7 separate regions of the Homo sapiens genome follow, and regions 2, 3, 4, 5, 6 and 7 are each linked to region 1. The links are contacts of gene promoters, found by promoter capture Hi-C in blood cells and fetal thymus (Javierre and others, 2016). All regions are on one chromosome and are shown on one strand. Each heading gives the region's core, a stretch centred on a gene start or on the middle of the fragment in contact. The rest is flanking DNA. Distances are from core to core; before and after follow the strand shown.

Region 1 (2,831 bases), core at 132-2,631:
AGAGGAGAGTAGAAATCTTCTGAGAAGGACTCACACCCCACCACCAAGCTGACCGGTCCAAACATCTCCATAGGAAGTCAAGTCTGCGGGATGATGTGCAGAAAAGGCCTTGACATTGCCTTCAACGAGGAAAAGAAGAGGACAATTCCCTGAACCCACCTCAAGGGAGACAGAGCAATCCCTGTGAGACTGATTTCCTGACTGGTCCAGCAGGCCAGGATATTATCATAGATGAATTGGCCTGGCAAGGTATGAGTAAATATGAGTCAACCTACATAGGAATAAACCAATGACCACATCAAACACCCTCACAGTCACAATAATTACCACTTATCTAGTGCGTACTACATACAGACGCTACCTAGTTTAATTCAATCCTCTAAATAACCATTTCTGGGATCCATTTCACGGGCTCAGAGAGATTACTTCTACTTTCCCAAGGTCACACAGCTGCTCAGCTTCAAAGTGGAGTTTTGAACTCAAGTCTGTCTCCCTTCAGGACTGCGATCTTTCTATTAATACTATACTATGCTGCCTGCCTTAAAGGAAGTGATGACAACAGATTGGAGAAACGTCTTATTTTTACAGCCTCGACCTAGGTGGCCCGGGCTAAGAGATGTGCGGGGTGCCTCTCTGTGAACTCCCTCCGGCCCACTAGGAATCCCTGTCTTAAACCCGGAGTGATTCTGAAGGGCCGGGGTGGGGGTGGATCTCTGACTCCAGGTCACCTGTGGGCCTCACACCACGAGAGGACCCCTGGCCCAACACCCTTTTTCCGATCCGCGCCGCAACCACAACGGTCCCAGCCACCCCCTCTCCCCACCTCGAGCTGCCCTCCGCCCCAGACTTCGCCGCTGGCTATCCTACTGCTTCATTCCGTCTCGCCGCCGGCGAAAACCGGCCCCGGGGCTTACCGCGGGTGGGCGGATCTTGCAAATGCCCGATTTCTCTGCGATGGGCCTGATTTTCGCGATGTAGCCAAGAGGGTCTCGGAACTCGGCCCAGCTAGGCTCGAACACCGGGCACTCCGGTGGCGGTAGGAAATCGTCGGACCCCGGCTCCATGGTGGGCCCGAGGTCTGGGCCAGGGATCGGGAGGCTTGGACCGCCCTTAAGGACTCATGGCGCCGCCGCTGTTTGAAGCCGAGGCAATGCTCGGAGGCTAGGCCCTAAGCGGGGCAGCCGCCGCCCGCCGAGGGCCTAAGGGGGCGTGTGGCCGTCGTGCTCTGAGAGTCTCAGGCTGACTCTACTGCTACCGCCTCTTCGTCCCGCTCCGTTTCTTCCAAACTGTGTGGTTGCCTCCCCACTACCGCAGCCTTCGCCACCACAGTTACCTCCCAAACGCCGCGGCCTTCAGCGCCGCCGCCGCCATCTTGGTTTGTCAGCGTCTCCCCTCCCCACACCACAACAAACCGGATCCTTCCGCGGGGTGTCCTTCCGAGCCTCGTATACGTTGCGTCACACCAAGCCCTAGGAAACCTTCATATAGTGGAGACCGAGCTAAATAGGCTGGTATGGGTTTCTATTTGGAAGGGGTTACTCAAAAGTACCACCCCGGACTGAGAGAAAATAGTTCATTGCAACGGCGGAGGAACAAGATTGTAATTAGTTTGCCGGATCGTCTTTCCGGATGGACCGGCGGTGCACGTTTAAAGGCCAGTGATGCGCATGCGCGTTATGGAGACCGGAAGAGGAGCTGGTGTCCGTGGGTGGTGGAGTCAAACCGGCACTCCCCCGCAGACCTCAACCAGGTCGCTAGCCCCGCACCAGTGTTCTCTGTCCCTTCTCCCTGGTCTTAACGGTATGGGCCGCGGAAGGCGGCTCTGGGAGCCTGATTGCAAAGGACCCCTTATGCTGGCCCGCGGGATGGGGGGAGATGTACTAGGCTCCAGCTCTAGACACTGACACCTCTGGGGCTTTGAAATAAGGAAGGCAGGAAGCTGCTCACTCCCCGGGGATTATGGATTTTTAGGATTCTGAGTCCCAAGTAAAGGAAGGAAATCTTTATTTCATCCAAGGTTACAGGTAGAGAGATGGGGTTTCGATTCTTACCCCCCAAAAGTCACTGGGAGTCAGCATTTTAATGAACGCTTTCAACTGTTCTGTATTCACTTTTACCATGTACACATTTGTGGCATATACTCCTACAAAATAAGCCTGTGTGTATGTATACTTTAACTATTGGATGTTTAGCAACGGCGTATTTATCCAGTGTCAACTGTGTAAAACACCTGTTTGCCCATTTGTGAGCCTACAGTGCACTTACCAAACATCCGTGTACTTTTATTGTATTTATTGTGTATAGCCCCTGTGCATTTGGTACCAACTGTATGTACATTTAGTCCTATCGTGTGCATGTTCCTTGAGCAGTTTCTGAATAGGTTCATTGCAACTACAGTACTTTGAATGAGTATCATCAAACCAGTACTTTGTACATATACATCAGGCATCTACTGATTGGAGGATCATCTGTGTCATTCATCAGCTGTGGACCTACTGCATATAGTTTGAACACCTACTGTGCAAATATTTGAGTACTTGCGTACATGCTGATTAAGTAATTTTGTTTTCCCCCATCAGACTATGAATTCCTTAAGGGCAGGGACCATGTGGCCTTATACATCCTTAGCACTTGGCATGTTAAGCAGTAAATGAATGTTGAGTAAACAAAAGAAAAATGAATAAATGTCCTTAGTATATATTGACTGAAAAATATGAATACTTTTTGCAAACATTTCCTGTTTAACATATTAAACATCCACTGTAAGCTCGAGGCAGATAGGGAGTGTCATACCTTCGTGCAGTTAACTGTTCCTAATCAGATACTGTGCC
Region 2 (2,831 bases), core at 210-2,709, 4.6 Mb before region 1:
ACTGTGTTGCCCAGGCTGGTCTCAAACTCCTAGACTCAAGTGATCTTCTTGCCTTGGCCTCCCAAAGTATTGGGATTACAGGTACGAGCCACCATGCCCAGCCGACCCCATGTCGCTCTCTCTTTTTTAATTAATTTATGTTTGAGATGGAGTTTCGCTCTTGTTGCCCAGGCTGGAGTGCAATGGCACGATCTCAGCTCACTGCAACCTCCGCCTCCAGGGTTCAAGTGATTGTCCTTGCCTCAGTCTCCCAAGTAGCTGGGATTACAGGCTCCTGCCACCATGCCCGGCTAATTTTTTGTATTTTTAGTAGAGACAGAGTTTCACCATGTTGCCCAGGCTGGTCTCGAATTCCTAACCTCAGGTGATCTGCCCGCCTCAGCCTCCCAAAGTGCTGGGATTACAGGTGTGAGCCACCACATCCGACCTCTTTTTTTTTTTTTAAGAGACAGGGTCTCGCTCTGTTGCCCAGGTTGGAGTGTAGTGGCATGATCACAGCTCACTGCAGCCTTAACCTCCCAGGCTCAAGCAATTCTTCTGCCTCAGCCTCCCGAGTAGCTGGGACTACAGGGATGTACCACCATGCCTAATTTTTGGTAGAGATGGGGTCTCACTTTGTTCCCCAGGCTGGTCTCAACTTCCTGGACTCAAGTGATCCTCCCGCCTCAGCCTTCCAAAGTGCTGGGATTACAGACATAAGCCACTACGCCCAGTTGACACCATGTCTTAAAAAAAAAAAAAAAAAAAAAAACGTAAGGGAACCAGTTCAATAAAATGTCACCCTTGAATTCCCTGGGCTTCAGATATCCTCATCTGTAAAATGGGGATAGTAACAGGACCCACAACCTTCAGTTATTATGATTAAATTGACTGGGTACAGTGGCTCACGCCTGTAATCCTAGCACTTAGGGAGGCCGAGGCGGGCGAATCACTTGAGCTCAGGAGTTTGAGACCAGCCTGGCCAACATGGTGAAACCCCGTCTCTACCAAAAATAGAAAAATTATCCGGGCGTGGTGGCAAATGTCTGTGGTCCCAGCTCCCGGGAGGCTGAGGTAGGAGGACTGCTTGAGCCCAGGTGGCAGAGATTGCAGTGAGCCAAGATCGTGTCACTGCACTCCAGCCTGGGTGACAGAGTGAAACCCCATCTCAAAAAAAAAAAAAAGATTAAATAGATTAATATATGTATAAAATACCTTGAACAGTACCCAGCACATTGTCTCATAAATATTAGTTGTTCTTGTTAAGGTTACATGTTTGTGCAGTGAAATAGAGTTTACTCTTTATCAATCATGTTACAAAAGAGTATTTAATATGAAAAGACACTGATAAGCTTGTTACAGGGACAAGGGAGATGCTGAGTCAACACAATACAGTGTGATCTTTCGGTGACTTTAAAACATTGTTGAATTGATTGTATTTGTTATAAAAATAATGTGGAAAATAACAGCTTTGAATTTTATGTCAGTTGATGTTAAGATCCAACAGGAAGTTTACCCTGATAACGTTAAGATGAACAGTTTGAAAGCAGCTTCCTGCTGGAAGTTGAAATAGAGATGATTCAGATAGCCTCTTTGGATCCAAACCCCAAAGCTTCTTTTGCCTAATTCTATCTTCTGTCTTTAGAAACTCAAGCCTCGACTGGGCTCGGTGGCTCACGCCTGTAATCCCAGCACTTTGGGAGGCCGAGGCGGGCGGATCATGAGGTCAGGAGATTGAGACCATCTTGGTTAACACGGTGAAACCCCCTCTCTACTAAAAACACAAAAATTTAGCCAGGCGTGGTGTCGGACGCCTGTAGTCCCAGCTACTTGGGAGGCTGAGGCAGGAGAATGGCGTGAACCCAGGAGGCGGAGCTTGCAATGAGCCGAGATCGCGCCACTGGACTCCAGCCTGGGCGACAGAGCGAGACTCCCGTCTCAAAAAGAAAAAAAAAAAAAAAAAAGAAAGAAACTCAAGCCTCAAGCTGTCTGGGGGCATCCAAGTCCAACCATCCCAGTCACACACACACAACCGACCTTACTCATCCCAGGGGTGTGCAGAGGCCCACTGCAAGAACTGGTGAACTTTCAAGGCGTCTTTGCATATATGATGATTTTTTATTCTATTATTCAAGTTTTGCTTGGACAAGATTGTGCTGCTAAAAAGTGGCCTACACCACTTTTTTTGTTTTTGTTTTTGAGACAGGGTTTCACTCCCGTCGCCCAGGCTAGAGTGCAGTGGCGCGATCTCAGCTCACTACAACCTCCGCGTCCTGGGCTCAAGCAATCCTCCTGCCACAACCTCCCGAGTAGCTGGGACTACAAGCGCCCGCCACCATACCCGGCTAATTTTTGTATTTTTAGTAGAGACGGGGTTTCACCATGTTGGCCAGGCTGGTCTTGAACTCCTGGCCTCAAGTGATCCACCTGCCTCGGCCTCCCTAAGTGCTGGGATTACAGGCGTGAGCCACCGCGCCCGGCCCTACACCACTTTTTAAAAGTCGTGTTTCTTCTCTTTTTTATAATGTTGTACTTCTGATTTCTAGGGAATGATTAGCAAACTCACCCCTGACGCTATGTCCCTTGGACATTATCCTTGTATACACAAAAAGTGCAATTAACGAGTGGGTAGAAGTCAAGGGGTGGAGCCTCCGTCCTTGGGCTTGAAGCCAATGTCCCTCAATGCGCCTGCGAGACTCCCACGCCCTGGGAAGGATGCCTATCGATTCGCTCTGGGCTCGGCAGTTCTTTCTGATAGCAGGCAGCCATCTTGCCTGGAGCCTGAGAAAGGGAGGAGAGACAGAAGGAACCGGCGACAGTGGTCTCAGGGCCGCTCCGGGGGGCCTCAAGAA
Region 3 (2,831 bases), core at 166-2,665, 4.3 Mb before region 1:
GGTAGTCCTGGGGTTAGTAATGGTGCCCACCTGGTCAGAAAGCTACACGTGGACTAAATAAATACAACATCTTTATTTGGCATTGGATATCCTGACATTTGTTCATTACAGTTCCTTAAAAAACAAACCAAAAAATCAGAACAAATTAATCAAAAATAAAGATCCAATGGCTCTATTTACATATAGCAAAGACAGCCCAGGCATCTTCCATGCACACACACACCCCGCCCCGATACAGTTAAGGGGTTAATAAGCTTTGGGGAGCGCAGGAGGCAGGTTCCACAGTTCATCAATCCCAAGACACCCCCATGAGGTAGGGGTGCCTCACACAGCCAGACGGATATCAAGAGTATGATTGGTAGCTTTTTCCTCTCCTAGACATCTCCAAAAATAAGCCTACATCTGGCAACTGACAGTGTCTTAAATACAATGAGATTCAGCCACTTCAAGGACCTCCATTTTTCCCACACCCTGGATCATTAATGATATGATTACACCACAAATCCCAAGTCCACTAAAAAAAACAAATGGCCCCTACCACACCTTCTGCCAGAAGGGCTGATGCAAAAATCTTAGCTCTTGTCCCTTTCTCCCTGGGGACTCACAAGAAGCCCATCTTCAAGGTATCAAGGAAGCTGGCCCAAGGCCACACAAAAGACGGAACTAGTAACATGATCCAGAGCGGTGGTAAGGGAGGAGAGAAGGCCTCAAACTATGGGCAACTGAACCCCACAGGTAGGCATCGGTCATTCCTGAAGAGCTGCGGGAGTTTTGTCCAGTGTGTCCTTATGGAGGTGGAGGGACTGCTGGGAGGGACTCTCCCAGACGAGAAACCTCCAGAAGAGGGCACAGGGTCGGGGAGGGAGCAGACAAAAAAAAGGCCTTGAATGACAATACCCCCAACCCTGCCTCCAAAGAGGTTAGAGGGAGCAGAGGCGGCAGCTCTAAAACCCCCTCCAGGGGAAGGGGGTCACCCTACCAGGAAGGGTTCACGTGACACCCAGCTCTAGTCCCACACCCCTCCAGAAGTCTCAGTGACCTGGGAGAAAAGACCATCTCCCAAACCCAGAGGAGCCAGGCCCCGGAGGGTGGCGACTTGGGTCCTGCAGATGCCCAACACCCTCCACCCCAGTCCCCCTCCCTTGTGTCCCCCCATTGCTGCCAGCCCTCACTTCACCAGCACTGACTTTGGCAGAAAGGGCTCCGTGATGAGGTCTCCACGGTGGGAAGACAGCTGCGGTGGTGGTGGCTGCCCGGGAGGCTGCTGGTGAACGCAGGGCCCGGAGGCGGAGGCAGAGGCAGAGGCTATGGCTTTGGCTGCACCTCGGGGAAGGCTGTAGAGGTAGACAGCACCAATGACGAGTCCAGCGCCAAGGGCAAATAATGGGTCCACGTGGAAGCCAAAGAGGCGAATGGAGGCAACAGTGGACAGCACAATGGACAGGGAGGTGGCAAAGCCCTTGAGGATATTGTCAGCGTACTTGACAACCACAGCCACCAGTAGCCCGCCGAAGGCCTGGTTGAGCACCACGCCCCAGACAGCAGGTGTGTACCCAAAAAAGAAACCACGGGTGGCCACGGCGGTACCCTCAGCCCACCAGAGCCCCACCAGGCCCAGTGCTGTGCCGAAGAGGCCCAGTTGCAGGTTGCGCAGCCACACGGAGCCTGAGCTGCCTTTGAGGATCTTCTCAAAGTAGACACCTGCGAAGCCGGAGGAGAGACAGGAGGCCACGACGGCTGCCAGGCCTGCCCCAGGGTTCTGATCCAGTGGCCGTGGGCCTCCCCCACCGGCTTGCTGTGCCTGGACAATGGCGACGCCAGTGAAGAGGAGCAGCAGGGAGGCCCACTGCAGCCGGGAAAGGCTGCGATTCAGCATGAGCACGGAGAACAGCGCTGTGGTCAGGATCTTCAGCTGGTATGTCACCTGCGAGTGGCACGTGGAAGGCACTGAGGGCTGACCCTGGCCCCCAACAGGTGCACATGGGGGGCAGCACCCACTGTGGGCCCCCAGGCACAATGGAGGGACAGGGTGGGGGGTATGACAGCAAAAACAGCAAAAGGAGCCAGCCACTGGCCATTGGCTGAGCTGCAGCAAAACAGTTCTGAAGTCTCTCCCAGCAAGTGCACAAAAGGATGGCTGTGCCAAGAAGTCCACATCCCAATCCCATTTCCTGGCTGTGTGACTGGGGACAAAGCACTTGCCCTGTCTGAGCCCTGGCATCATCATCTATAAAAGATGGCTGAGGTATGGAAGTATCTTTGTGATGAGGGACTTGATACAAATGAATCAATAGCCACAACAATGTCAGCAAATACTTACATAGTGCTTACAATATATCAGTGTGGTTCTAGGCACTGCACGTGAATTCATTCATTTAATTCTCACAACACCATTCTGAAGTGAGCACCACTGTAAGCCCCAATTTAAAGGTGAGAAAACTAAGGCACAGAGAGGTTAGGTGACGTGCCCCAAAATCACACAGCTGGAAGGTAGCAGAGCTGAGATTTGAACCCAGACAGCCTGGCCCCAGAATCCAGGCTCTTTAACCATTTCACAAAGCTGCCCACAAATAGCCTAAAGCTTATCTGTCACCAATCAAGGGCTCTTCACAGGTATTATTTCTTTTAAGTATCCTAGCATCTCAGTGAACAGGCATTACTATTTCCACCCCCAATTTTCACAGACGAGAAAAGGGAGGTTGAAGGAGTTCCAAGGACATTCTGAAGGTGACATAGCCCCTGTCCTCTGCAACACCCCCCCACCACGCTATTCCCATACTCCAGTCCCCAACCCAGTTAGTTCCTCTGGGGCCATGCTGGGCTTGGGGCTC
Region 4 (2,831 bases), core at 196-2,695, 4.3 Mb before region 1:
CCTGTAATCCCAGCACTTTGGGAGGCCAAGGCGGAAGGATCATCTGAGGTTAGGAGTTTAAGACCAGCCTGGCCGACATGGCGAAGCCTTGTCTCTACTGAAAATACAAAAAATTAGCAGGGCGTGGTGGCGTGTGCCTGTAATCCCAGTTACTTGGGAGGCTGAGACAGGAGAATCGCTTGAACTCGGGAGGTGGAGGTTGCAGTGAGCCGAGATGGCACCATTGCACCCCAGCCAGCCTGGGCAACAGAGCAAGACTATGTCTCAAAAACAAAAACAAAAACAAAACAAAAAACAAAAAAACAAAGGCAGAAAGAGAAAGGAGCTGGAGTTTGGATACCAGCAAAGCCTAGTGTAGAGGCAACAGGGAAGGCCCCCACGAGCCACAGCATGGAGGACATACCTTGCAGCCCATCCACAGAATATCCTGGTTTGTCTCTAAACATGAAAGAGACCTGAATAGGCCCCTCGCACTGCAGGGTTTGGGTCCTGGGGCAGTCAAACTGGCATCCAGGCTTGGATCTAGAGGCTGGACTGCTAGCCACCCACTGGCTTTGTCATCAGCAGCCTGAGGAGTTTGGGCTCTGGCCCTTCTCTTTCTCCTTTTGGGGAGAAAATGTTGCTCAGGAAGGGCTAGTAGGGGTGGGGGGTAGGGGATAGCTCAGCCATAGATAAGTTTAAGCTCCAACAATGCCCTGGCCTGAGGAGATTGTGAACCTTGCAAACTCATCGCTGAGCCTATGGGAAAATCCCTCCATATCTTTGAGCCTCCACAAAAAGGCTGAGTAAAGCTCCCTAACACCAGAGGATCCCAGGAGCTGAGGCAAGATTCTGTAACCTAGTGGTCTAAGGGCCCAAGTGAAGTTGGAGCAGGCTGTGGAACCCAACTGACTTAGGTTCCAATCTAGCTCCACCAATTATTAGCCATGTGATGATGAACTGCTCTGAGCCACAGTTTTCCAATCTGTGAATGGGGATACCAAGCCTCCCAATAATAGGGATGCTGGGCAGACTCAAATATTACAGGGCTTTGCCCAGTAAGAGACCACTTAATGAGTTCCCTTCCCTTCCCCAGGAGGGAAAAAAGCCTCTCTAGTAGGCTGATTAATAGCCACGCAAAGATATCAAACCCTAACCCCCCTGGAACTTGTAAATGTTACCTTATAATGAAAAAGGTAGGGCCAGGCGTCGTGGCTCATGCCTGCAATCCCAGCACTTTGGGAGGCTAAGGCAGGCAGATCGCTTTGAGCTCAAGAGTTCAAGACTAGCCTGGGCAACATGGTGAAATCTCATCTCTACAAAAAATACAGGCCAGGTACGGTGATTCACGCCTGTAATCGCGGCACTCTGGGAGGCCGAGGCGGGTGGATCACCTGAGGTCAGGAGTTCGAGACCAGCCTGGCCAACATGGTGAAACCCTATCTCTACTAAAAATACAAAAATTAGCTGGTCATGGTAGCAGGCGCCTGTAATCCCAACTACTCAGGAGGCTGAGGCAGGAGAATCGCTGGAACCTGGGAGGCGAAGGTTGCAGTGAGCCGAGATAGCACCACTGCACTCCAGCCTGGGTGACACAGCGAGACTCCATCTCAAAAACAAATAAATAAACACCAAAAATTAACCGGGCATGGTGGCTCGCACCTGTGGTCCCAGCTACTCAGGAGGCTGAGGCTGGAGGATCACTTGAGTCCAGGAAGTGGAGGGTGCAGTGAGCCAAGATTACGCCACTGCACTCCAGCCTGGGTGACAGAGGCCAGCACTGTCTGAAAAGAAAAGAAAAGCCCGGGCACAGTGGCTCATGCCTGTAATCCCAGCACTTTGGGAGGCCGAGGCGGGTGGATCAACTAAGGTCAGGAGTTTGAAACCAGCCTGGCCAACATGGCAAAACCCCATCTCTACTAAAAATACAAAAATTAGCCAGGTGTGGTGGTGGGCGCCTGCAATCCCAGCTACTCAGGAGGGTGAGGCAGGAGAATAGCTTGAACCCAGGAGGCGGAGGTTGCGGTGAGCCGAGACTGCGCCTGGGTGACAGAGTGAGATTCCACCTCAAAAAAAAAAAAAAAAAGAGAAGAGAAAAGAAAAAAAGTGTTTGCAGATGTAATTAACTTACATTATTAAATCTGGAGATGGGGGGTTATCTTAGAGTATCAGGTAGGACCTAAATGCAATCACAAGTGTCCTTATAAAAGAGAGACAGAGGGAAATTTGATACAGACAGAAAAGGAAACCACATATACAGAGAAGGCGATGGTGAAGATGGAGGCAGAGATTAGAATGATGCAGTCATAAACCAAGGAATGTTGGCAGCCACGAGAGGCTAGAGAAGGTCTAAATTCTCCCTGAGAGCTTCCAGAAGGAGTGTGGCCCTGCCAACACTTTGATTTGGATGCAGTGAAACTGATTGTGGACTTCTGGCCTCCAGAATTGTGACAGAATAAACTTCTCTCTCTCTTTTTTTTTTTTTTTTTTTTTTTGAGATGGAGTCTCGCTCTGTCACCCAGGCTGGAGTGCAGTGGCGCAATCTCAGCTTACTGCAACCCCCACCTCACTGCAACCTCCAATCCGTCTCCTGGGTTCAAGCAATTCTCTGCCTCAGCCTCCCGAGTAGCTGGGATTACAGGCACCCACCACCACACCCAGCTAATTTTTATATTTTTAGTAGAGATGGGGTTTTACTATCTTGGCCAGGCTGGTCTTGAACTCCTGACCTCGTGATCCACCCGCCTCGGCCTCCCAAAGTGCTGGGATTACAGGGGTGAGCCACCGCACCCGGCCAACTTCTGTTGTTTTAAACCACCCAGTCTGTGGTAACATTTGTCACAACAGCCACA
Region 5 (2,831 bases), core at 215-2,714, 4.2 Mb before region 1:
AGGATCTGTCTTCCTTCCTCTCCTCACCCTCAGATGGAGCCCTAAAACCACCCAGGAAGTTGGGAAGAGGAAGCTCGGGCGAGCCACTGAGCTCAGCACAATCCCAGGCACAAAGGAGGCAAAGACCCCCCCCCACCCAGGGCTCACACACCCATTGCACAGAAGTTGGAAGAGATGGGCACTGGGGTGAGCAGGGAGGGCTGGGGCTCCAAAGCCCATTGATGAAAGTAAGGATGAGAAGAGGCCAGAGGGGATCCACCCAGGCAGGGATGGTGCAATCTGTACTCGTTCCAGCTCTATGGACAGATTCAAGATTACCCCCAGGAGCTCGGAGATCGAAAAGAAGATAAAAAGAAAAGGGGTGTGGGGCTAGGGAGTGGGAAGGGCTGAGAGGCTAGAGCGAGTAGCAGCATGAACAAGAGCCTCCTCTGGGTTCCCAAACAAGGTCTGAGGCCTCTGAGCTAAGAGGTAACATCATCGCCCTCTGCCTGGCTGTCTATCTTCCATTCAGGCCCTTAACAGGTGTGGGAAGAGGGCTTTTCCACTATCCTTGGGATCTGCCCCAGCTGGGTAGGCGGGCAGAGGGGAAAGGATTATTCTGGTCAAGTCTTGCTGAATGTTGCTTCTCTTGTTCATTCACACGCACTCACAAGGCTGGTCCCAGGCAGCATATCTGAGATACCTCCAAATCCCTCCAGATTCATGTTATCCCCAAACACAGCAACCAGTCACTGAGAGGCACCAAGCTCCCAAGACAGCACTTCTGTCCCTCAGGACCCCTTCTCCCACACTGAGGGAAAAAAGATTCTAGGATTCCCTTAAAACCAGTGCCTCACCTGACAGTGTCCCCTCAAATTCATTCCCCTCATGTCCGACTGAAAATCCCCGAATTCAGCCTCTAATCAGAGACCCTGTCTACCAAGTTCAGCTATCTCAGACCAGTTTCTGGATACTCCAGAATAGGCCCCTCTAGACGCAGTCAAGGGCTCCCCAAACCTGACCCAGACCCCGCTTAATGCACTCCCACGACTCCTTTAATAAAGCCACAATCCAAGCAGGCCACTGCCGGATTCCTTAGGTGCCCCCCCAAGACGGGCGCCCCGACGTCCTCCAAGGCTAGGCCGAGGGCCTCCAATCCCAGTCCGGGGCCCCCACTGCCCCCGAGATCAGGCCCCTGGGAGCCCCAGTCGGCACTCCCAGCCCCAGGCGGCCCCGCACCTGAGCAGCTGAGCCGAGTCGGCCGGCCTGCGCTCCTCCAACAGCACGAACACGGCTCGAGGGCCCTCCGCGCTGGCCTCTACGCCATCCCGAGCTGGTTCGGCCGCATGAGACATGACGCCCGGCCCCGGGCGAGCCCTGCCAGGCCGGTCGGGCCTCGGCCCGGTCCCCCTAACAAAATAAGAGTCCCCCCTCCCCCCAGCTCGCCACCGCCGCCTCCTCCGCTAAGCCATGGAGCTAGCACTGCGCGGGCGGGCGGCGTCGGGGAGATGGGATGGGCTGTGAGTCATCCCCCGCCCAGAACGGACCGACGCCCCCCCTCAACCTAACCCCGGACGACCGCCCTCCTCCCCCTCGTCTTCTTCCCCCTCCTCCCTCCTCCCAGGGATGGGGAAACTCCACAGGAAGTGACCGCACTGGGGATGGATGGCCCGTCTGGCCACGACCCATTAGCGAGGCGGCCAATCGCTGAACGGCGATTCGAGGGCCCACCCTAAGCGACGCCTCCGACGCGGAGGAAAAACGCGATTCGGCCCGCCCTCATTCCGAGAAGCAGCACCCAGACCACGCCCTCAGGGGCAGCGACAAATAGGCGAGGGTTGATTTGGTTGAACCACGCCTCTATGTTTGCGTCGCTTTCGGAGCCACGCCCTCTCTTCTCAAATTATCCCTCTGCAAGGTAATATTAAGCCGCTCCTTGGGTCCTCTGCGCCTGCGCATCGATGGCCAGTCGGCGCACGGAGGGTCTCCTGGCCAAGCTTTTAGCTGCGGAACCGCGCCCTCTTTCGGCCAATATTTGTAATATCTGAGCCCTAGACCGCGCTCCAACCTCGATCTGGCTGTGCTCTCTCAGCCAAAGCCATAACTATGAGGCAGAGGCAGCTACATTCCCTGAAGGTGCGGGCCAGAAACCCCCCCCTTTCGCTGTCCGCAGTCCAGCCGCCCAGCTGGTCTTCCGGGAGTATTCCGCCTGTTCCATGCCATCGAGAGCGGTTGTACTATGTTCATTGCGCTGCGCAATATGTGCTTAATAAATTCTTGACGGGTGAATGAATCTGGTCCCTTCGGTGAATGACGACTTCTGGAATCACAAAGATCCAGGTTTGAATAGGGAAGGGGACCTCCCCTCTCCCAGCCTCAGCTTTCCTGGCCTGTTAAATGGGGGTCAAAATACCTGTCTGGCAGGGTTGTTCTGAGGATTAAAGATAATGTATGAAAAGTGCTAGCAGGTTGTTTGGCATACAAGAAGCTTCCCAAAATTAGTTGATTCACTCATTTGTTCACTTATTCAACATTCACTGAGCGCTTCTGTATGCCAGACGCATGCAAGCCGGCTCGCACAAGGCGGAGGGTCTCACTCATATATCCTCAGGTGCAAATAGCTCACAAAACACCCAGACCTACAGCCTTCCCTTCCTCTTTCCTGACATCCCAAGACCCCACCCTGAGTTGCGCCTCCAGGAATTTCACCGGGCTTTCATTTACCTTGGACCTTCCTGTATTGGCATCATTATTTCACAGGTCTGTCAGTTGCTTTCGTAAACTCATCCATACTCACACACAACCATCTCGTACAAGGGGGAAACCTCTACATAATAAAGATGACTTCTGGC
Region 6 (2,831 bases), core at 172-2,671, 3.6 Mb after region 1:
TGATTGGGCACCTAAGGCCTTCTCCTGAGAATGAATGCGGGAAGTCTGTTATCAGATAAGCCCCAGCAGCCAGTGTGAAACTGGAGCCTCCTGGGTCAACCTGCTTAAAAAGGGACCACACCTTGGGTAGAGGCAGACAGTCCCCTTGGGACCCTTGGCCCTCTGTGATGCCATGGGAATCTGTGTTGCGTGGTGGCCTTCCCCAGTTCCCCTAAGCCACCCTCATGTCACCCCTCCCCCCCACCCCATGTGAAAGCCAGGACAGCCTGCACAGAGTCAGACTTCAGTCAGTTGCTGAGTATCCCCTCTGAGGGAGATTCCTGCCACACGCCCTGTGACTGCCTGTTGAGCTGTTCGCTCATTTTGGTGACCTCCATGTGCCAGCCCAAGGTGGTAAACTCTATCTGGAGCTCCAGGCTTTGGGAGAACCACCAGTCCTGCAGCAAAACCTTGGGTAATTCAGCTGGGTGACCAGCACCTTGTCCTGGGGCGGCAGCCCCATGATCCCAGTCTTCCTGTGGTTTCCCAGTGGCCATGATTATGTATCATTTGTCTTCTATTTTTCTGCATGAGCATGAGCCATGAAACCTGGAGAGGGCCAAAGGAAAAGCAAAGGCTGGCGGCATAAAGAGGATTTCCGCAGTGTCTCCTGCCTACTGGTCCTAGGTCGTAGGGTCCCTTAAGTTTGGTGGTCAACCTGAGACCAGGTGGCTGGCTCCTTTTTATCCTCCCTGTCTTTTTTTTGTTTCTCTTTCCCTTTTCTTTTTTTCACATTGGAAAGGGTGGAGGCCGTCGGATTGGAGGGGCAGGGTTAAGCTTGTAGTTGGCCTTTGTAGAGCCATAGTGCCATCGAGCGGAATCTGTTTCTGGAAACTGGAGGCAGCTGGGCATGAGTGCTGGAGAAATCCCAGGAGCACGAAAGAGATGGTGGCGGTGTGGGGCCCCCAGGCTGAAGCTGGACGAGAGAGGAACTCCTGGCTGGCCCTTTGCCCTTGCTCATTACCAGGATGGCACCCGGGCTCCACAGCCCTCTCCGAAAAAAGGGCAGGAAGGGGCGGCCCTCCATGGGTTCCCCTGGCCATCTCCAGGAATTGCCGGGCAGGAGTCGTCCCGCCCACAGCACCCCACAGCTCCTTGGTTCACTGGGAGGATAGGGGACCTCTGGCCCCAGCGTGATTCCAGGCAAGGGCACCCCAGAACTCCCCACAAAAGAGACCAGTGTAAACGACCCCAGTCTCGGCCGTCAGTAGTCAGTGGCTTCCCTTAAGCCCACCTCAAGATGGCTGCCAGGGCACCTCCGCACTCTGGACTGACTGGTCTTGGGGCTGCCTGGCTGCTCTGTCCCTGGGCCTCTAGATTAGCTGCTTCTCCGTGGGGTCCAAATGGCAGGCACACTTCCTTCAAAGGTTTAAAACCGCGATGGGGGAAACTCTGGCTTAGTCAGAGTCCACCCAGCCCGACATATTCTCGCTGAAGTCTGTGCCTGTCAGAAGGCAAGTATCCCTGCAGCCGGTCGTGTTCAGAAACAACTGCCGCTGGATGGCAGTGTGGCTCCAGAAATGGCAGTCACTTATTTCCCTTGCTTTTCTCTTTCTCCTTTTGCTTCCAACAAAACAAAACAAAACAAAAAGAAAAGAAAGAAAGAAAGAAACCGGCCAAGGAGCGCTCACCTCATCTACAGCAGGACTCCCCACCTACATGGTCTCTTTGGGGAAACCTGCAACATGCGAAAGGCTCTCTGCCTCCCTCCTTCCCTCTGGATTCCTCTCTGGGCAGGGGTCCCAGTGAGCCAGAGGAGCCTATCCTCAAGAAATCCCACCCTTGGGGCTGTGGCATGGTGGGGATAGGTCGCACTGGGGGCAATGTGAAGGGGTATGGGGGAGGGGTGTGTGAGTGCATGGGCCTGCTTGTAGGCCACTGCTGATTACTTCTCTGAATTTGCACAAGCCTCCTAAGGAGACCAGGCTGCCTGCTTGTGAGCACTACGCTTGTAAATAGGGAACACACTGTTTCTTGGGGAAGGGACAAAAGCTTGGATCAAAAGCACCCAGGTCCAACAGGCATCCATAGATTGTTGACCCTTCTAGCAGAAGAAGGTCGGGCCAGGTGTCTGTCAGGATGAGACTCGACAGATTGGACACCTGTCCCAGGCCTTCAGCTACTTTTCTCACTGGAGCCCAGGCACTCATCCATGCCCAAGAGTAGGAGGGGTATTCTGGGTGGCTTCCACAGGCGGCTCTCCTAGAGAAAGCCACTTGGCATAGCTGATGGAGCATGTGTGCTCACTGAATGTGATGGCTCACCAGTTAATTCCCCGGGCATCTTAGTCATTCTGCCAAATACATGGGTAGCCAGGCCCCAGCCATGCTCACTTTCGCCTGGGCCTCCTCTGTGTTCCTGTGCTGGGCATGGAAGTGAAGGTTGAGGCTGGCGTGTCTTTGCAGATGGTGAGGTGGCTGTTCCTTGGTTTGATACCGAGCACTCTGGGCTCCTCAAGCTGAATTCTATTGCTTGTCAGATTATTCAGCCTGGAAAATGGATGAGACAGTGGAGGACAAATTGTGCCACCCCTTTTGGGTCTCCAGGCAGAAATGGGAAAGCCATGCATGGGTCCTTCATACAGAACACTTGTTGAGATGCAAAGCTGTGGCCTCATTGCTCTAAAGGTTGCATGTCTTACCCATGCCTCTCAGTGACTGGAGAGCAGCATGGAACACAACCATCTCAGAATATTGCAAATGTTTTCTTTCTTCGCTTGTTACAAGTCTTCCTGGATGTGTAGGCTGCACTGGGAACGTGCAGAGCTTTAGAGGAGAGAAAATTCACCCTAC
Region 7 (2,831 bases), core at 145-2,644, 3.5 Mb after region 1:
CGGCCAGTGGCTTCGTTTATGTCCATCTCAACATGGCTGCCGGGCCAGCTCCGCCCTCTGGGCTGACTGGTCTTGGGGCTGCCTGGCTGTTCTGTCCTGGGGCCTCTAGAGTAGTTGCTTCTCCAAAGCGTCCCAATGCCAGGTACACTTCCTTCAAGGGCTCAGAACCCCGGTGGGGGAAACCCAGGCTTAGACATAGTCTAAGCACATCCTCGCTGATCTCTGTTCCTGGCAGAAGGCAGGTGTCCGTGCATCCTGTTGTGTTCAGAAACAACTTCCACTAGATGGCAATGTGGCTCCACAAACAGCAGTCTTGTCTTTCCCTTCCCCCATTTTCTTTCCCTCTTTCTGTTTTTGGTGCCAAAAACCAAAACAAACACCAAAAAAAAAAAAAAAAAAAAGAAACTGGCCTAGGAGCACCCATCTCACCTACAGCAGGGCTTCCCATCTATGTGGTCACTTTGGGGGAACCGGCAACAGTAGGATGGGGTAGGGGTGGGGGCCACAGGGAGCAGGGCAGCTTCCTGGCCCAACAGGCCTCTGTGCCCACGCGGTGCAGACCCGGGCTTGAGGGGCTGATGCTTTCTCCTGGCTGGTGGCTCTTCCTCTGTGAGGCCACAAGAGGCCACTCATAGTGCTGCCAGCTGTCCATCTGAGGCACTTTGCATTGCAGTTCGCTGTCAATCTCATTGCTCACTGATTCTTTGTGTACTTTTGGAGTTTTTCTCCCTTCACTTTTTTCTTCTTCATTCTCTTTACTTTTTCTCCACTTCTGCTCCAGGAGCAGACTGGAAGGCAGGGTCAGCTGGGCGCGGGGACACCGTTAGGGAAAACAGGCTTACTTTTCCTAAGGAAATTAGTAGGACTCTAGCTGACCCCTGCGAGGAGAAATTGGCGTTTCCCTCTCCTTTCTGCCCTGTCTCCATATTGCAGTGGGTGGCTGATTATCTCTTTTCCCTGGTGTCCAATTCCTCCCCGTTTTTCATCTTATTCTTTTTTGGGCGGTCCTTCCCTGCCTTGGCCTTGTAGCCTTGGGGCTTGGTAGCCCCTTGCAGTCAGCTGATGACATCTTCAGGGCAAGGTTCAGCCAGCACCTGTGTTCTCTGTAGCTTCTGCAGGCCTACTTGTGGATCAAAGCTTTTGATCTTACTCAGGAAATACCCCATCAACAAGACGCTTCCTGGTTGTGTGTCCTTTAAGCCGGATGTCAGAAGTGGCTCCGTGCCCCTCGTTGTATGTCACCACGCGTTGAGGCCCTCCTAAACTAGATCCTTCGGGACAGCTACAGTGGCATGGACCTCTCACTTCCTGTTCTCCTTCTGATTCTTCTTCCTCTTCCTCCTCCTACCCCTCTTCTTTAATTCTTCTCCTTCTCCTCCTTCTCCTCTTGCTCCTCCTCCTCCAACTCCTTCTTATCTTCCTACTCCTCCTTTTTCTTTTTCTTCTTTTTCCTCCTTCTACTCCTCCTCCCCCTCCCCCTGCACTTCCTTCTCCTTTGCCTCTTTTTCTTTTTTTGCTTTTGCTTCTGCTTCTGATTCTGCTTCTGTTTTTCCTTTCACTTGCGGATCTGGGTGGGCACGTGTTCTAGCAGACTGCTTCTTCTTTTGCTCCTTGGTGATGTGGGATGTCCCTCTGCAGAATTAGGCCTGGAGAAAGCTTCACATTCGTTCTTTAAGGAGCACAGATGAAGGTCATGAGTTTAGTCCCTCTGGTCCACCAAAAGGCTACCCACGTGTTACTTTTAAGTGAAATGTCATGGTGAACGCACCCTTTACCCAATACCTCATGGCTCATTGTTATTTCCCATTCTCCTTCTGGATGCTGTAAGTGTAATCCTGAGCCAGTAGGAGCCTTGGCAAGTTGTTTCCTAACTCCTTTTTTTCCAGTCAAGCCATGTGAACACATCAATCTGAATTTCAGTGTGTGCAGGCAGGGTGTCTCTGCCACGTGTTCATTTGCTCACATTTCAGTGTGTGCAGGCAGGGTGTCTCTGCCACGTGTTCATTTGCCCACTCTCACTCACACAGGGAGGCACACACAGACACACATGCAGGCACTTACAAGAGACCCCCAGAAGAAGAAATAAAATCACAAACACACACACAGAGATACATGCACACCCAGACAAAAACACGCTTACACATACCCACACAAACACACACATACACACACATAAAGTAAGCTCACAAAATCAAAGGGGTAGGGGCCCAAGCATTATGGGACACAAACACACATCGCCACAGGCATGCGACTGCCCACATTCTCTTCGACAGGGGTTCGAAATATGCAAAGGGGAAAGGGAGACAGAGGAGCATTCCTGCCTCCAGGCCTGAGTCATTATGCCATTTATTGGGCAACTAGGGCCTTCTCCTGAGAATGAATTCGGGAAGTCTGTTATCAGATAGGCTCAAGCAGCAGGCATGAAACTGGAGCATCCTGGGTCAAGCTGCTTAAAAAGGGCCCCCAAGCCTTGTCCCTGTGTGATGCCATGAGAAGCTGTGGTACTTGGTGGCCTTCCCCAGCCTCTCTGAGCCACCCTCCTCCCAACCCTACCTCTGTGAAAGCCGAGACAGCCTGAGCAGAGTCAGTCTTGAGTGAGTTGCTGAATGTCCCCGCTGAGGGAGACTCCTGCCTCAGGCCCTGTGGCTGCCTGTTGAGCTGTCTATCCGTTCTTCGGACCTCCATGTGCCATCCCAAGGTGGTAAACTCTAACTGCAACTCCAGGCTTTGGGAGGACCCCCAATTCTCCAGCAAAACCTTGTGTAAGCCAGCTGGGTGGCCACTGCCTTGTACTTGGGCGGCAGCCCTGTGATCCCAGTCCTTCTGCCGTT

The links. Contacts are between HindIII fragments. The CHiCAGO score rates a contact against its expected background, and 5 or more counts as called.
Region 2: a contact is called between a fragment that was not itself captured here and the fragment with the promoter of KDM5C in region 1, in 1 of 17 cell types (naive CD8 T cells). The highest score is 6.7, in naive CD8 T cells.
Region 3: a contact is called between a fragment that was not itself captured here and the fragment with the promoter of KDM5C in region 1, in 1 of 17 cell types (neutrophils). The highest score is 6.2, in neutrophils.
Region 4: a contact is called between a fragment that was not itself captured here and the fragment with the promoter of KDM5C in region 1, in 1 of 17 cell types (neutrophils). The highest score is 6.2, in neutrophils.
Region 5: the fragment with the promoter of TFE3 here is called in contact with the fragment with the promoter of KDM5C in region 1 in 1 of 17 cell types (neutrophils); the score reaches 6.1 in neutrophils.
Region 6: a contact is called between a fragment that was not itself captured here and the fragment with the promoter of KDM5C in region 1, in 1 of 17 cell types (fetal thymus). The highest score is 6.2, in fetal thymus.
Region 7: a contact is called between a fragment that was not itself captured here and the fragment with the promoter of KDM5C in region 1, in 1 of 17 cell types (fetal thymus). The highest score is 8.3, in fetal thymus.

Annotation. Positions count from the first base shown.
Region 1 is chrX:53,223,826-53,226,656 of GRCh38, forward strand. It overlaps KDM5C (lysine demethylase 5C), which reads right to left and starts at 1,382. Exons shown (of 26, transcript NM_004187.5): 1 at 915-1,382. The coding sequence starts at 1,064. It also overlaps a transcript of IQSEC2 not described here. RefSeq lists enhancers at 924-1,023, 1,264-1,643, 1,482-1,776, 1,654-1,703. The HindIII fragment of the contact is 15,929 bases long and covers 1-2,831 here.
Region 2 is chrX:48,594,766-48,597,596 of GRCh38, forward strand. It overlaps WDR13 (WD repeat domain 13), which reads left to right and starts at 2,727. Exons shown (of 10, transcript NM_001347217.2): 1 at 2,727-2,831. The HindIII fragment of the contact is 260 bases long and covers 1,330-1,589 here.
Region 3 is chrX:48,903,559-48,906,389 of GRCh38, forward strand. SLC35A2 (solute carrier family 35 member A2) reads right to left here. Exons shown (of 5, transcript NM_005660.3): 4 at 1,188-1,924. Among named protein-coding and RNA genes, the nearest start is that of SLC35A2, 6.7 kb to the right of the region's middle. The HindIII fragment of the contact is 2,327 bases long and covers 253-2,579 here.
Region 4 is chrX:48,948,087-48,950,917 of GRCh38, forward strand. All of the region lies in intron 1 of OTUD5 (OTU deubiquitinase 5), which reads right to left. Among named protein-coding and RNA genes, the nearest start is that of OTUD5, 8.1 kb to the right of the region's middle. The HindIII fragment of the contact is 6,417 bases long and covers 1-2,831 here.
Region 5 is chrX:49,041,893-49,044,723 of GRCh38, forward strand. TFE3 (transcription factor binding to IGHM enhancer 3) reads right to left here and starts at 1,465. Exons shown (of 10, transcript NM_006521.6): 1 at 1,219-1,465. The coding sequence starts at 1,334. RefSeq lists an enhancer at 791-1,654 and a silencer at 1,196-1,435. The HindIII fragment of the contact is 3,845 bases long and covers 1-1,974 here.
Region 6 is chrX:56,802,195-56,805,025 of GRCh38, forward strand. The region is part of intron 2 of NBDY (negative regulator of P-body association); the gene reads left to right. Among named protein-coding and RNA genes, the nearest start is that of NBDY, 74 kb to the left of the region's middle. RefSeq lists an enhancer at 1,249-1,388. The HindIII fragment of the contact is 1,215 bases long and covers 815-2,029 here.
Region 7 is chrX:56,764,322-56,767,152 of GRCh38, forward strand. The region is part of intron 2 of NBDY (negative regulator of P-body association); the gene reads left to right. Among named protein-coding and RNA genes, the nearest start is that of NBDY, 36 kb to the left of the region's middle. RefSeq lists enhancers at 1-295, 2,779-2,831. The HindIII fragment of the contact is 519 bases long and covers 1,136-1,654 here.